Linked DNA regions of Homo sapiens: regions 1 and 2 are each linked to region 3. The links are contacts of gene promoters, found by promoter capture Hi-C in blood cells and fetal thymus (Javierre and others, 2016). All regions are on one chromosome and are shown on one strand. The core of a region is centred on a gene start or on the middle of the fragment in contact, and the rest is flanking DNA. Distances in the headings are between cores, read along the strand shown. Region 1 overlaps ANXA3 (annexin A3). Region 2 overlaps ANXA3 (annexin A3). Region 3 holds the start of PAQR3 (progestin and adipoQ receptor family member 3).

Region 1 (3,488 bases), core at 713-3,212, 330 kb after region 3:
GCTTCCATTTCCATTTCTATATCTGTGTTGGTATCTACATTGTAAGATGCCTTGAGGATTAACAAATTAAAATATACTACACTGTTTAACATAGTACCTAATACATAGTAAGCACTCTATGAGTATTAACATTGATTTATTGCTTCGTGATATACTTACTCACTAAATCACTTACACTAAAATCGTGAAGGCATACTTGACTGACACTTGGTAACTTTGAATACCATGTTTACTCAATTTTATCTCCCAAATATTTAAGTAGTTGTTTTCATTATCTCCTGCCATCATCTTAGTTATGACTGACATTTATAGTATTGATTACAGAACTAACTTGCCAAATGAGCTTCCTGACTCAAGCAATCCTCCCACCTCAGCCTCCCAAGTAGCTTGGACCACAGGCATGTGCCACCATGCCAGGCTAATTTTTGTATTTTTGGCAGAGACAGGGTCTCACTAGGTTGCCCAGGCTGGTCTCAAACTCCTGGGCTCAAGCAGTCCGCCTGCTAACCTCCCAAAGTGCTGAGATTACAGGCGTGAGCCACTGCACATGGCCAGTACGATCATTTCTATTCTGGTCCAGGAAAATAACTCTAACTGGAATTTTTTTCACTTTATCTATTTCATATCAGTCAAGGTATTTCATATTAGGTCCCACTCAAAGATGGCATGATGGATTCTTTAAATGCATAGTTTTGCCAACTCAAGAGAAAAGGAAACCTTAGAGGCTTGATTCTAAATGCCCATTCTGGGAAAGTAGTATTTAGCATGAAGCAACCATAATTCATGCTTGCCATTCAGACAGGAAGTGGTTAGATTAATCCTTCAGCAGATGTTTTCTGAAAGCTGAAATAACTTATCATGCATTACCACTCCTATAGCTTGATCACAACTACAAAGGGTAGGCCAGGGTCACATACATCTTCATCTTATTCCTTTCTTTCAAAAAAGTGTGATTAACAAGGTGATAAACTGAAGCAGTAACAGCTTCTATACAGAAACATGTTTTAAAATATTAGTTGTTGGCACCAGGCATCAAACAATGTTGGCAAGCTCTGAAAGCAAACAAAGAAATTACTTTTAACAAAAGCAACAATTTTTATTATCTTGCTTTATATTTAATGGAGTAGAACTATAAAGATTCTTAACTTTGAAAGCAGAAATATAAGTTGGATAGTAGTTGCAGATCTTTAATACCATTTTCAATTTCATTTATGAGCTGCTACATTATAAATGAGATGCTCTAAAATAATAATCGCTTTTGTTGTTGTTGTTATAGAACAATGAAAATTCCTGTTAGGAACACAAGTTGCTGTTTATATTTGCTTGTTCTCTTAAATAGTATGAGAAGAAGTAAGGTGGAGCTGTTGGGAAAGCCCATCGTGGACCTTTGGAGATTATCTTCTTGGTTCAGTCATCTCCACCACAGATTTTTAAGAGTGTGATTTCATAGTCTCCAGAAGTATCCGACTGCAAAGAATAAAATCAATGAAGAACAAATACAGTATAAATAATGGGAGACCATAAATGAATCAAATCCTATAGCACTAGGGAATTCACCTGGGTGTGAGACTCATGAGCTATACCATTTAGTAAAACATACCTGCAATTCCATCATTCATTCATACCTGAGTGTAATTACGTTCTGACCAGCATCTTCTTCACTGTAAGTAATATTTAGATTCTTCCTGATATACTGCAGTTAAATTTCAATTTTGGTTTAATAAAATAAGATTGCATCACTTACATAATATTGATTTCTATAAAAACTTCAAATTTTAGTTTTAATAATATTTATCGAACACTTGCTATTCAAAAGGCTTAATGTGTATTAACTACTTTAACCCTTTTAAAAGCTCTCTGCAATAGGTACTATACGTATCCCCCATTTAACAGATAAGTAAAATGAGAAAGACAGGTTAGGAAACTTGCCTCAAATCTTATCGAGAATAAGTGACAAAAGCAGGATTTGAATCCCTATATCCTGGCTCCTTAATACCCTGCTACACTGCCTAACTTAGGAAAGTGAAATGAACCACATTTTTAAAGAATATGTTTATCAGTTCCTTTTCCCAAGGCCAACCAAAAATAGACTGTTGTCCAGAAAAGATACTACGTGAGGTTGAGGCTTAAAGGGCAAAGATACCAAGTTTGTAACGCAAAAGACTTCACAGGAGGTAAAACTTGGCTTTCAACCTGGATTGTGTAAGATGCTCACATTATTTTTATTTTATTTGAGGTAACCCAACCAGTGAGCTCTTCTTATCACTTAAGTTTCACATTTGGAATGGCTGTTACTGGGGTGAATATTAGAGAAAGTGGTAATATAAAGGAAGTCTCAGAGAAGGCTCATTTAGTGAAGAAGTTAAGCATTACTTTCATAGTAAGACACAATAGGCCTTTATATATATTTTTCTGTTTTCTTTATTTCTTGTTCATTTGTCTGTTTCACAAAATATATGACAATATTCTTCGTTTTTATATAGATTTTAGTTCTTATGCTATTGGTTTTCCTGTCTTGCTCTGCAATAGCAGAGCTGACAAGTCAACAATGCTCCAGCTTTGTATTAAAAGAGCTCCTTCTAGACATCTCTGATCAGAGTTGTAAACAATTAGGCGTTCTACCAGTTAGTCAAGAAAATACATCCAAGTAACTCAAAGTATATTTACACCGCTAATGACTTACTTGACCTCTCCACATGTCTTACATGGCTCAAAGACATCTCAAACTCAATACATGTAAAACCAAACTCATAAACCTCCCCCCACTCCCCCAAAAGAAAAGGAAACAAACAAACAAACAAACAACCTAAAACCTGATCCTCTTGCAAGGAATGGCGCCACTGTCTGTTTTCCAAGTTAGGAACTTGAGTGTCATCCTTGCTATCTTCCTTTCCTCACACCAAGATATTATACCAAGTCCCTTAAGTTTCAACTCCTAAATATCTTTTGAGCCCTTCTTATTCTCCAGAATAAGAAGATCTTACAGGGATCTTTTCATGATCCTGATACTAACTCTTCAAGAGCTCATGCCCAGAACTCTTCAATGGCTTCCCCTTACTCTTAAGCTAAAGCCAAAATTCCTTAAACATTGCCAAAAAGGTCCTGCATGATCTGGCCCCCACATCCTCATTTTTCATTATGCTTCCTCCACCATGAGGCCTTTCCATTTGTCATTTCTTTTATTAGAATGTTCTACTGGCTCCCTTACCTCCATACATTTTGCCTTATTAATATCTACTTATTTTCCAGATCTGAATCATGACTTTCTCATAGAAGCCTTTCCTCTAAGTCAAGTCCTACTATTGTAGGATCTTTTAGCACAATGTCACTTTCCTTTACATTTAACATAGTTGTAATTCCATAAGGGCAGAAAATGTCTTCCCCCACCCTACCCCCTTTGCTTATAATTGTAACCCTGAGCCTAGCACATAATATGCATTTGATAATATTTTTAATTGAATGAGTGAATTCGCTGATCTCAAAGCTCT
Region 2 (3,456 bases), core at 860-3,359, 380 kb after region 3:
AAACTAATAGGAATTACATTTATTATTATTCTGTAAATGTAAGTTAGGAATTGATCAAGGAGGAAAGAGCTCAGAGTATTTACCTAAGAAAGCCAGCATTGTATAACAGAAGGTACGCAGAAAAAATACTGCTGTGGTAGCTTAATAAAAAGTCACGTTCTAAGACATTCTAATTTGTGGGCTTCCTGAGTGCTTGCTGTGGACCTACAGGCAACATATGACAAGGGACTCTAAGTCCAAGGAGTACAAACCAATAAGATATCAGGCCCTTTCATCAAGGGTGAAGTGGTAGAACATATGTCTGAGCAGAGATATTCAAAATTTGCAAACAAAGGAAATACTAATGCAACATAGATTGTTGATTCATCTGAAACAATGGTAGGGTTGCAACACTCCTAGATAGAATATAAAAGACCTAAGAAACCAGCCATTCTTTCATCTTCAATGGTAATGCATTGAAATTGCAACTAATGACTTCTCCCTTGATCATACCACTGTAATAAACTAATCATACACATAATCACGTATACAGTTTTGTAGAAATGCAATGACTTGATTGCTTATTTATGTTTGAGTGTGTATGTGGTTTTGTGTGGCAGAGAGAAAAAAAGAACACATAAAACTTTGTGATAAGAATGTTTACAATTGGAAATCTGAGGGTTTTTACCATCTTAACCATTTCTAAGTGTATAGTTCAGTAGTGGTTAGAATATTCACATTGTTTTGAAACATCTTCAGAACTTTTTCATCTTTCAATACTGAAACTCTACACATTAAACAACTCCTCTTTTTCTCTTTCCTTATTCATTCCTAACGACCAGTCTCCTTCTGTTCCTATGAATTTGACTGCTTTGGATACCTCTTATCAATGAAATCATACAGTATTTTGTCTCTTTGGGACTGGCTTTTTCACTTAACATACTGGGCTCAAGGCTCACCCACATAGTAGCATGTGACAGGGTTTTCTTCCTCTCACACAACATGTGTTTTTAAAAGACTGAATAATATTCCATTGTGTGTGTGTACCGCATTTTGTTTATTCATTCTTCTGTCAATGGAAACTGGGCTGCTTCTACCTCTTGGCTATTGTAAAAAGTACTGCAGTGAACATGGGTGTATAGATACCTTTCTTTAAGATCCTGCTTTCATTTCCTTTGGATATATACCCAGAAATGGGATTGCTGGAGCATGTGGTAGTTCTAGTTTTAATTTTTTGGAGAATTGCTATCTTGTTTTCCATAGCAGTTCTGAGTTGTTCCTAATGTTTGCTCTCTGAGCCACTCATAAGTATTAGTTCTTTAATTGAGGGAGAGGAGGTAAACAGGAAAAAAAAAAAAAAAAAAAGAAAAACCCAGAGACAGTAGGAGCCCTTCTTTGGCTAGGGCCTCTTTCTCCACGTGTGGGTTTGCCCTCCAGGCTCAGGTTAGCCTCCTGTTTTTGGCCCCTCCCCACCTCTTTCCTGCTATCTGATGCCAAATGCTACCATCCCTGATGTAGCCATACTCCTAGCCCCTGTGGTAGGCAGAACAACAGCCTCCTAAAATGTATACATCATAATCCTTGGGAATTGTCAATGTATTGTGTTTCATGATGAAAGAGACTTTGCAAACATAATTAAGGTTCCAGACCTTAAAACACAGGGATTAGCCCGTGTTATCCAGGTGGGCCCAATTTAATCACACGCACCCTTAAAAGCAGAGAAATGTCTTCAGCTGGAGGGAGAAGAGAATGGCAGAAAAGAGATCCCCCAGAAAGAAAAGCCAAAGAGATTCCAAGCATAAGTAAGATTTGATGCATCATTGCTGGTTCTGAGATGCAGGGGCCACATACAAGGACAGGCAGAGACCTCCAGGAGCCAAAGACAGCTTCTGCTGGCAGCCAGCAAGCACTAAGAACTCAATTCGACAACTACAAGGAACTAAATTCTACCAACAACCTAAAAGGGCTTGGAAGAGGATTCTTCCCAAAGTCTCCAGAAAGGAATGCAGTCCCAACAACACCTTCATTTTAGTGCTGTGTGACCCATTTCAGGCTTCTAACATATAGAACTGTGAGATAATAAATGGATGTTGTTTTAAATTGCTAAATTTATGATAATTTGTCATAGTGCAATAGGAAATGAATACACCCTTGATCACACGCACTTGGGTCTCTCCTAGCCCTTCAGAAATGTGCCACGCCTTTGAAGGTGTCAGCAGGAGAGCCTGCCCAAATAATTCCATGTTAATTTACTCATGGGCGAGGGCCAGAGGGCGACTTTTTTTTTTAACACCAGCATTTTGGAGAGATGCTTTTTTCATCTGATTCTATGATATGTTCATAAAAGCAGCAGGGATTTCAGATGAAAGATGAGAGTTTAGCCTCCTAGCCAGTGAGAAGGGAGTAACTTGGGCCAAACAAAGCCTTCCAACAGCACACCTTCCATCCATACGCCAGGCCAAGGGATGGTCACATCTCTGCACAGGCTTTTCTTTAAACTTGCCCTCCACCTTACTTATAAAATATAATGTATGCTCATGATTAAAAAAAAAAATCAAACAGTACAGAAGGTGATATATTGAAAAGTAAAATTCCTTTCTCACAATTCCACCTTTCCACAAAGTTTTGATGTAATAGTCTTTCCGTAAATTTTTTATTTTCTTTGTTCTTTCTTTTAAACAGAATCCCTCTGTACATATTACTCTATAAGTTGATTTTTTAAATTATTACATCTTGGGACTTTTTTAATGTCAATTCACATACAGCTGATCCACTTTTTTCCCATTCATTTTAATGATCACATAAAAATGCCTGTAAGTTATAAATGAGTAATTTACTTATTCCTACCCTATCGATGGACATTTATGCTGTCTGCATGTTTGTTTTCATTAATACAAACAAATGTACTTGGGCCCCTATTTTTTCAACCTTATGCAAGTTTATCTATAAGATACATACCCACAAGTGGAATTACTGGGTTTAAAGGACATGTGCATTTAAGGACTGAGAGATATTGCCAAAATACTATCCAAAAGTGTACCAAATTTACTCTCCCATGAACAGAGAATAAAAATATCACCTTGCCACATCCTCTACATTACTTTTTTTTTTTAACCTTCACCAATCTCTTAAGTAGAAAAGTGTTTCTCATCATGATATTTATGTTTTTTTCAATTCTGAGATGCAGGAGTTTTTTTTTTTTAATAGATAGGGTTTCACTCTGTCACCCAAGCTGGAGTACAGTGGTATGAACATGGCTCACTGCAGCCTCCACCTCTTGGGCTTAAGCGATCTTACCACCTGAGCCTCCCAAGTATCTAGGACCATGGGTACACCCCACAACGTTCAGCTAATTTTTAAAGTTTTTTTTTTTTTTTTTTAAGAGACTGGGTCTTGCCATATTACCCATGCTGGTCTCGAACTTCTGGGCTCAAATGATCCTCCCATCTTGGCCTCCCAAAATGCTGGGATTATAGG
Region 3 (3,818 bases), core at 952-3,451:
ACTTAAGTAAATGGCTTCAAAGTCCAATATCTTAATCACTAAGCCATACTGCTTCTCAAAAATCAACCAATATTACTAGCATAATAATAATAGGTATTATGAGTGATTATTGTATGTTGTCAGGGTTCAGAACACCACACCCACCCCAAAGTGTGGTGCTTTGACATGCTGAGTACTTTAAAGGAGACTGGGAAGGCCTCAAAACTAAGGTCTCTCTGAACTTCTTTCCGTCCTCCTTTCTTCCTTTTCCTGTTCTTCCCAAGTGGGTCTTACAACCTAGAATTTCTCTCCCTAAAGGAAGCCATAAAACCTAGTAAGGGGCCGGGCGTGGTGGCTCACGCCTGTAATCTCAGCACTTTGGGAGGCTGAGGCAGGCATATTGTTTGAGGTCAGGAGTTCAAGGGCAGCCTGTCCAACATGGTGAAACCCCATCTCTACGAAAAGTACAAAAATTAGCCGGGCATGGTGGTGGGTGCCTGTAGTCCCAGCTACTCGGGAGGATGAGGCAGGAGAATTGCTTGTACCCGGGAGGTGGAGATTGCGTGACCCGAGATTGTGCCACTGCACTCCAGCCTGGGCTTCAGAGTGAGACTCTGTCTTCCCCCAACAACAACAACAACAAAAAATCTAGTAAGGTTACTTTCTGACTGTCCCTGCCTTTCCGTGGTCACAAAGGAGTTCTGACTTACCTCACCTGAAACTAGGTCATAAAACCCTCATTCTAGAGAGTTCCTGCCCCATACTCTGAGGCCAAGAATTTGAATGAACTGGCCTTGCTAGCTAGGATCCCCCCTCAGTTTATTATCATTAGATGATGCCCCCTTTCAATCATGTTTCTCCACAACTATCCACTCCTTTCATCAGACTTAGCATAAAAAGCCCATTTTTTCCTGGGTCTTTGTGTCTTCATTTCTGAAGACTCCTCTGTCACATAAAACTGTGTTAAATGAATTTATTATCCCTTTTCTTGTTAATTTTTATTATTTATTTTTTGAGACAAAGTCTCGCTTTGTCACCCAGACTGGAGTGCAGTGGCACAAACATGGCTCACTGCAGCCTCGACCTCCCAGGCTCAAGCAACCCTCTCACTTCAGCCCAGAATAGTTTGGGACTACAGGCGCCCATCACCACACCCGACTAATTTTTGTTTTTTGTTTGTTTGGTTGGTTTTTTTTGTAGCGACAGCGTCTCACTATGTTACCCAGGCTGGTCTCCAACTCCTGGGCATAAGCAATCCGCCTGCCTCGGCCTTCCAAAATGTTGGGATTACAGGCATGAGCCACCTGCGCCTGGCTTCTCTTAATTTTTTTCATAGGAATGTCAGCTGTGAACCTTGTGATAAGTGAGGACAAGATATTTTTCTTGCCCTTACAATGCCAAACAATGGACTAAGCGTTCTATTATACACATACGGTACTCAAACTGATGTTTTGCCCTGTTGCCATTATAAGTAAACACTTGCATTACAGTAAATAGCCAGAAACAAAGCTGCAACACTTCCTGTAAACGCTACTATAGCCGCACTCCACAGGATTTTTTAATATGTTCTATATTATTCAGTTAAGTAGATATTCTCATTTCCATTGTGATTTCTTCATCAGCCCTTGAAATATTTGGTGTATTGCTCCTATTCCAGACGTGGAGACTTTTAGTTTTCTTGTTACTCTAGTTTAATTCTACTGTGATCAGAGAACATAACGCTGAAAGGGGTCGGAGTTTTGAATGCACGGGGGCTTTCCTTTATGGCTCAGGATGTGCTCGATGCTGGTGTATGTTCCACGTGCATCAGGTTTCCTCTCTTTCCAATTATCGTGCTAAGAGCTGACTTCAGCTTAGAAATCCTCAAAGTCCCTTCTGACACTAAGTGTGTGTAATTCCAAGCATAAACTAAACGGTAATTACCTCGAACTTTTCTTCCTGTTAACTCTTTTCCTCTTGATTTTTCAAAATGCAGCAACTATTACTTCTAATAAAAAAACAGAAAAAGAAAAAAAATCCACTTGTATTCGCCTGTAGCTCTGTGCTTTCGGCTCTTCTCATATGCAAACGAAGACCCCAGGCGCCGCCAAAACACAGCGTGAGAGACGCCCGGGAGCCCGGGCCGCCGCCAGCGCACGCTCGAGCACACCCGGGCGCGCCCCAGCACCCTGCCCCTCCCAGCTAGGGCTGAGGGGCGGGGCCGCCGCGGCGCGCTGACGTCAGAGGAGGCTGCGACGCTGCCGGGTCCGCCGCGGCGCTGGCGGCAGTGGCCGGTGTGAGCGCAGAGCCGGGCCCTGGGCAGCAGCGGCAGCGCGGTAGGACCTCGCGCAGCGTCCGCGGGCTCCGGGGCGGGGGCGCCAGCGGCGAAGCCCCCTCCCCGGGGAGGCGGGACCTGGGGGAGCTCCCGAGCCGGGGAGCGGCGGCGGCCGGGAACGATGCATCAGAAGCTGCTGAAGAGCGCGCATTACATCGAGCTGGGCAGCTACCAGTACTGGCCGGTCCTGGTGCCCCGTGGCATCCGCCTGTACACCTACGAGCAGATCCCCGGGTCCCTCAAGGACAACCCGTACATCACCGACGGCTACCGGGCCTACCTGCCGTCCAGGCTGTGTATCAAAAGGTACGGTCTGGCTGCCTCCGCCTGGAGTGCCCCCTTCTCTCACCTACACCCTTTTTGTCTGGTCCCCCTTCTGCTTTCCCCGCCTTTCTGCTTGCCCATCATTTCCTCGCCGCCCCATCCTTTTCATCCCTTTTTGCCGCCTCTCCTCCCCCGTTATCTCCCCTTACCTGGCCGGGGTACTTGGTCCACGGAATAATCATGATAGTAACAGTGATCATAATTACAGCTCTCCTATGACGCTTTGCTCTTTACAAAGGGCTTTTACATCCTTTATTCGGTTTGTTCGGCTCATTGAGATATATATTGAAATGGGGCTGAGCCATATTTGCCCGGTGTATACCTTTCTTTTTAGAGCAACACTGTGGGAATTCAGTAGCTTTGGGCCAGATAAGTGCCTGTATAATAGGAAACAAGTTAACATATACACCCGAGATTTATTCATTTGGCAAATACTTATGGAGCCCATGCAGAAAAAAAAGCAAACATGGCCCTTGTTTTCATGAAGCTACTAAGGTGTAGCCTGGGTAACAGACATTAAATAGATAATTACACAATTACATAATAACCATTGTGGAAAAAATGCTGTGTAGGAAAAGTACTGTGGTAAAGAGAGCTCATAACGGGCACCCAGTCTCCACTAGAGCACCACAGAAGCATCTCTAAGAAAGAAATTTCTTTATCATTTTAAACCTTTAAAACCACAGTCCCTTGAAAATCCGTGTTTTAAAAAAACAAAACTGAAAAATAACTATTCTAGTTCTTGGAGTAACTGTCCAAACTTACTACCTGTACTAAAATACAGGACCTCTGCTTCAGGAGAATTAAGATACAGGTGTTGGTTAGCTCCAGGTCGCTGTAGTGGCAAACCCTAGTGCCAGAATGTGGGCTGTTGAATTGCTCAAGCGGCAACCACATGTCTGATTCTTGATTTTTCCAGCATTGTCTTTTCCTGCCCTTCTTTCCTTTTGTCCTGCCATGAAAGTGTTTCTGTGACTCATGGTCACAAGGTGACATCACTGCCCATCCCTACTTGGCTTGAATGGATGGCCCTTAGGATTCACAACTTGAAGCGTAATTACCGTTTTCCTCCCCAGTGCCTCCTGTGCATGAGTAAATTACACAGCTGAGTTCTGCTGTGGATCTGGAGTTCCACAAGAATAGGGCAAGCAGTGAATTGCCTTAAATATTTTCTACTCAACTAGCAGTGGTCTTCTGCGTT

Evidence for each region. Contacts are between HindIII fragments. The CHiCAGO score rates a contact against its expected background, and 5 or more counts as called.
Region 1: a contact is called between a fragment that was not itself captured here and the fragment with the promoter of PAQR3 in region 3, in 1 of 17 cell types (monocytes). The highest score is 5.1, in monocytes.
Region 2: a fragment that was not itself captured here is called in contact with the fragment with the promoter of PAQR3 in region 3 in 1 of 17 cell types (neutrophils); the score reaches 5.1 in neutrophils.

Annotation. Positions count from the first base shown.
Region 1 is chr4:78,608,035-78,611,522 of GRCh38, reverse strand. ANXA3 (annexin A3) reads right to left here. Exons shown (of 13, transcript NM_005139.3): 13 at 1,076-1,467. The coding sequence ends at 1,408. Among named protein-coding and RNA genes, the nearest start is that of LINC01094, 36 kb to the left of the region's middle. The HindIII fragment of the contact is 3,917 bases long and covers 4-3,488 here.
Region 2 is chr4:78,555,578-78,559,033 of GRCh38, reverse strand. All of the region lies in intron 2 of ANXA3 (annexin A3), which reads right to left. Among named protein-coding and RNA genes, the nearest start is that of ANXA3, 5.5 kb to the right of the region's middle. The HindIII fragment of the contact is 9,514 bases long and covers 1-3,456 here.
Region 3 is chr4:78,937,821-78,941,638 of GRCh38, reverse strand. PAQR3 (progestin and adipoQ receptor family member 3) reads left to right here and starts at 2,201. Exons shown (of 6, transcript NM_001040202.2): 1 at 2,201-2,599. The coding sequence starts at 2,415. RefSeq lists silencers at 2,022-2,511, 2,602-2,671. The HindIII fragment of the contact is 16,646 bases long and covers 1-3,818 here.